Linked DNA regions of Homo sapiens: region 1 is linked to region 2. Evidence: promoter capture Hi-C in 16 types of primary human blood cells and fetal thymus (Javierre and others, 2016). All regions are on one chromosome and are shown on one strand. The core of a region is centred on a gene start or on the middle of the fragment in contact, and the rest is flanking DNA. Distances in the headings are between cores, read along the strand shown.

The links. The method cuts DNA at HindIII sites, captures the fragments that hold promoters and counts their contacts. A CHiCAGO score of 5 or more calls a contact.
Region 1: a fragment that was not itself captured here is called in contact with the fragment with the promoter of HEYL in region 2 in 1 of 17 cell types (megakaryocytes); the score reaches 7.6 in megakaryocytes.

Annotation. Positions count from the first base shown.
Region 1 is chr1:39,603,047-39,605,746 of GRCh38, forward strand. No RefSeq gene overlaps it. Among named protein-coding and RNA genes, the nearest start is that of PABPC4, 28 kb to the left of the region's middle. The HindIII fragment of the contact is 753 bases long and covers 1,014-1,766 here.
Region 2 is chr1:39,638,372-39,641,132 of GRCh38, forward strand. It overlaps HEYL (hes related family bHLH transcription factor with YRPW motif like), which reads right to left and starts at 1,272. Exons shown (of 5, transcript NM_014571.4): 1 at 1,175-1,272. The coding sequence starts at 1,254. RefSeq lists silencers at 1,049-1,118, 1,239-1,628. The HindIII fragment of the contact is 7,834 bases long and covers 472-2,761 here.

The DNA.
Region 1 (2,700 bases), core at 140-2,639, 35 kb before region 2:
TATTGATCAATGCAGATCAATATGTTACATGTATATTCCTAGGTGCCTTATAATTTTTGTTGCTATTGGAAATGCATTATAAATAATACATTCTTTCTTTTTTTTTTTTTTTGAGACAGATTCTCACTCTGTCGCCAGGCTGGAGTGCAGTGGTGTGATCTCGGCTCACTGCAACCTCTGCCTTCCAGGTACAAGTGATTCTGCTGCCTCAGCCTCCCGAGTAGGTGGGACTACAGGTGTGTGCCACAACGCTCACCTAATTTTTGTATTTTTAGTAGAAACGGGGTTTCACCATGTTGGCCAAGATGGTCTTGATCTCTTGACCTCGTGATCCACCCACCTCGGCCTCCCAAAGTGCTGGGATTACAGGCGTGAGCCACCCCACCCAGCTTTTTTTTGCTTTTTTTTTTTTGAGATGGAGTCTTGCTCTGTCCCCCAGGCTGGAGTGCAGGGGAGCCATCTCGGCTCACTGCAACCTCCGCTGCCCGGGTTCAGGCGATTCTCCTGCCTCAGCCTCCTGAGTAGCTGGGATTACAGGCAAGCACCACCACACCTGGCTAATTTTTGTATTTTTAGCAGAGACAGGGTTTCTCTATGTTGGCCAGGGTGGTCTCAAACTCCTGACCTCGGTGATCCACCCACCTCAGCCTCCCAAAGTGTTGGGATTACAGGTGTGAGCCTCCAAGCCCAGCCACATTGAGAGGTGAAGCCACCTGGACTTCTGGGTTGGGTGGGGACTTGGAGAACTTTTCTGTCTTACAAGAAAATTGTAAAATGCACCAACTGGCACTCTGTAGCTAGGATTGAAAAATGCACCAATCAGCGCTCTGTGGCTAGCTAGAGGTTTGTAAAATGCGCCAATCAGCACACTGTAAAATGGACCAATCAGTGCTCTGTAAAATGAACCCATCAGCAGGACATGGGTGGGGACAAATAAGGGAATAAAAGCTGGCCACCCCCCCCCACCCCAGCCAGCCACCACAACCGGCTTGGGTCCCCTTCCAAGCTGTGGAAGCTTTGTTCTTTCACTTTTCATAATAAAACTCGCTGGTGCTTACTCTTTGGGCCCGTGCCATCTTTAAGAGCTGTAACACTCACCGGGAAGGTCCACAGCTTCATTCTTGAAGTCAGTGAGACCAAGAACCCACCAGAAGGAACCGACTCTGGACACAATATGTTCTTATTTGTTGTTACTCCAATAAGCAATTAACAAGAGTGCTGTCAGAATGTGTGGGATGATCTTGTATTCAACTAACCTGTCAAATACTCTTATCAATTCTAATGCTCTGCATGTAGATTTTTATTTTCCAAATAGAAAATGAATCATGCATATAAGAATGGTGTTACCTCTTCCTACTTCCTAAGCCTCTGATTTCTATTATATTTATTACATTAGCTAGAAATGCCCATCAAATTTTGAATAAAGGGCATTCATATTTTTAACTTTTATGGGAATGCTAGAGTTTCACCGTTGAATTTGATGTTTAGGAATTTGGCAAATATCCTTTATAGGGTTAAGGTATTATCCTACTAATCCTAATTTGCTAAGATTTGAAAAATGAATGAATTCATCAAATGATTATTTATTTAAGTGATTATATACTTTTTATCTTTTAATGTATTAAGGTTCAGAACAGGAATTCTTTCCCTGTTGTTAACCTATCCTTGCATTTTTGGCTAAACTCTACTACATATTTGCTTCTAATTTAGATGTCATATGGATTCTGTTTTATTATTTAGGATGTTTGTATCTATAACCGTAACTAAGCTTGTTCTAAAATGTTCTTACCTTTAATTGCCCTGTCGTGGGCTGATGACAAGGGCATACTAGTATTACAAAACAAGTTAGGCAGTTTTCCCTTCTTTTCCACCCAGTAAAAACAGTTTGTATAAAACAGAATGTATTAGTCAGGGCTCGGCGTGGTGGCTTACGCCTGTAATCCCAGCATTTTGGGAGGCCGAGGCGGGCAGATCATTTGAGGTCAGGAATTTGAGACCAGCCTGGCCAACGTGGTGAAACCCCATCAATACCAAAAATACAAAAATTAGTTGGGTGTGATGGCACATGCTTTTAGTCCCAGCTACTTTGGAAGCTGAGGCACGAGATTCTCTTGATCCCGGGAGGCGGAGGTTGCAGTGAGCCGAGATAGCGCCACTGGACTCCAGCCTGGGTGACAGAGCAAGAGCCTGTCTCGAAAAAAAAAAAAATGTATTAGGGCTCTCCAGAGAAACAGAACCAACAGGACTTATTTTTATTTATTTATTTTTTTTTTGAGATGGAGTCTCGCTCTGTCGCCCAGGCTGGAGTTCAGTGGCACAATCTTGGCTCACTGCAATCTCCACCTCCCGGGTTCAAGCGATTCTCTTGCCTCAGCCTCCCGAGTAGCTGGGACTACAGGCGCCTGCCACCAGGCCCAGCTAATTTTTGTATTTTTAGTAGAGACTGGGTTTCATCATATTGCCCAGGCTGGTCTTGAACTCGTGACCTTGTCATCCGCCCACCTTGGCCTCCCAAAGTGCTGGGATTACAAGCGTGAGCCACTGCACCCGGCCAGGACCCATTTATTTATTATGAGAAACTGGCTTATGTGATTATGAAGGTTGAGAAGTCCCAAGATCTGCAGTTAGCAAGCTGGAGACCCAGGAGAGCCAATGTGTGTTCCAGTCTGAAAGTCTACTGGCTTGAGATCCAAGAAAAGC
Region 2 (2,761 bases), core at 22-2,521:
ACTTAAGCCCAGGAGATCAAGGTTGCCATGAGCTATGATCATGCCACTGCACTCCAGCATGGGCAACAGAGTGAGACCATGTCAAAAAGAAAGAAAGAAAGAATTAACTGAATTCCCCTCCAATTCTGTTCTAGAGAGTCAAGTCTAGATGAGCCAAGAGAGATGAAGTATATCCCTTTCTTTTCCACTGCTGTCTTTGTTTTACTGATGGGGAAACTGATGACAGACTCTGTCAGGGAAACCAATGGCCCAAGACCACATAGTGAGTTGGTGGCAGATTTGGGGCTGGGACCCAGGTCTGCAGACTCCCAGTCAGCCCTGCAGCTCTTTCAGGGTGCTGGGAATCACATGGTGTGTACCTAGGCATGTGCTGTGCTAAGCCCTTGACATACTTTGCCTCATTTGGTTTTCCCAATATTTCCATGAAGTTGGTTCTATTATTCATGCTCATTTAACAGATAAGGAAACTGAAGCTTAGACAGTTTACAGAACTGCGAGGTAGCAGAACTATACAAGCGCAGTTTGTTCGACAGGTTTGAAGCAGGTCAGACTATCTACCAGGAGCTGAAAGACACTGGCAGTATGGGGGCACGATAGGAGGAACATTGGAATTAGAGTCTAGGCCCTTGCAAGTCGCTTATTATTTTCTTCAATACTAAGTCCCTAAATCCAAACTCCAATTTGCTCAAAGGAGGACAAATTTTCTTCTTCCTGAAATAATTTGTGGACTACATGAAAACTGCATCCAAACTAGGGTAAAATTGGGAAAGGATGGGGTTACTCTGCATCGTCAGCAGATTCCAGACAGGGGCCAGAGTACCATCAGTCTATGAGAGTTTTCTAAGATCTCCAGGGAAAACCTGCCAATGGCCTCCCCTAGGCCACTTCAACAGATAGATGATAACCCACTAGCCACCTGATCCCCCGAGCTGAACTCTCCCTCCCTGCCAGCATCCCCAGCCCTGCACGACCGAGAGCGCGCAGGATCCAGGCACTCGTGCGTGTAACGGCACGGCCCGCACACGCCCCCTACGCCGACACCTGTGGCCCCCGCGCTCACCTGCCTCTGCCCAGGCGGTGCTGGAGGGCTGGCCCGCCTGCTCGGCGAGCCCGTCGGGCCGACCCCCACCCCGCTCGCCCTCCGCCTGCTCGGTCCCCGCATCCCGGCCCTTACCTCAGCTGGCCCTCTTGGCCCACGTCGATGGGTCCGTCGGACTCCCCGTCGGAGCCGCTCGGCTCCTTGGGTCGCTTCATGGCGAACGCAGGCTGCCTGGTCTCAGCCCCGCGGCTAAGGCTCCCAGTCGGGAAGTCAGGCCCCGCCCCGGCCCCGCCCCGGCCCCGCCTCGGGGGCGCCGCCACCGCCCTTTCCCAGGGCCCTTTCCTGCGCCGCAGCTCCGGGCGCCCAGGCGCCCCCTCGCCCCCGCGGTGACGCGCCGCCGAGCCGTGGGAAGGCCCTAGGCGGTCGCCGCCTTCATCGACGGCTGGGAGGTCCGGCTCTGCTCCGCTGTCTCGGCTGCCGCGCGCTGGGTGGCCTTGGGCAGGTGCCCTGGGAGGCCCCGCGGGGAAGCCAGGAGTCCCCGTCTGTCCCTGGGTCGCCTGGGCGCTGCTGGCCTGTAGAGGCGCCGCTTCGATGCCCGGGATTCCGCAAGGGTCAACCCTGCGCGCTCCTGCCTCCTGGTGTTCTGGAGGCAGCAGACACATCAAGTTTGTCGAAGTTAGTCGTGGTGGTTGTGGCCTGATCCTCAGCAAGAATTCCCCAGCAGCAACTCCATAGGGGCCCAAAGCAAGTGGAATAGTGTGGTGGGGGCAAGGGGAAGACACTTACACTTCTGAGAGGTGGCAGTCACCCCCAAAAGGGACGGCTGAAGTTGTGGCCACCGCATCTGAGAAAGCTGGGCTCTGGCCGAGGTCCCTAAAGGCCTGGCGTGGTGGCAGTGGTGGGTTGTCCCTGGGAATCAGTTCCCAGTTCACCAGAGGTCGAGTTGTCCTGGGCGGCCAGGAGGCCAGGAAAGGGCTCCTTCTAGACGCTATGGCAGGGCCTCAAAGTGGGAGAAGGAGAGGAAAAGGGAAGATACCTTCCAGCCTCTCTTCCTGGGGCCTCTGCTTCTGGCAACCCATCAAACTGTTCACTCAGGGAGGGCTCTAGCTGCCCTGTCCTTAGGGGGACTTGTGGGAAGTTCTCAGATTCACCGGTCATCCTCAGGCGCCCAGTACCTCAGAGAAGCTCCTAAGGCTCCAAAGGAAGCTGCATGAGAGCATCCTGGAGCTGGACTTCTTGGGCAGGGAAGAGGAGATAGAGGAGGTCTTGGTGTGCTGGGTTAGATATGAGAGGTCTTTTCCTTTTTACCCGCCACCAGGTCAGGACCTGAGGGAAGCCACCCCTTCAAGTGGGAGAATCGGGTTGGTCATCTGAGAATAACTGTGCTTCCATCCCCACAGCAAGGCCTGCTTGCTGGGGGACACTTGATTACTTGATGGGAAAGAATGTTCCTGTGCCCCCGTCCACACACATCCACAGACACAACCATTTGGCCAGGTATGCAAACACATACACACGGACAGACTTACAAATATATACTGGTAGGCGCAACTGTCGTGAGCAATCAGTACCAGGAAGCCCTGGTGGTCGCCCCAGCCACAACTATGGACTCTCATTCCAAATGCCCTCAGCACTCACATCACTTCTGTGGGCACATGCCAGTCAGTGGAAACCTCAACTAACAGAGAAGTTGCACAATGTGTTATGCATTCCCTGGAAAGG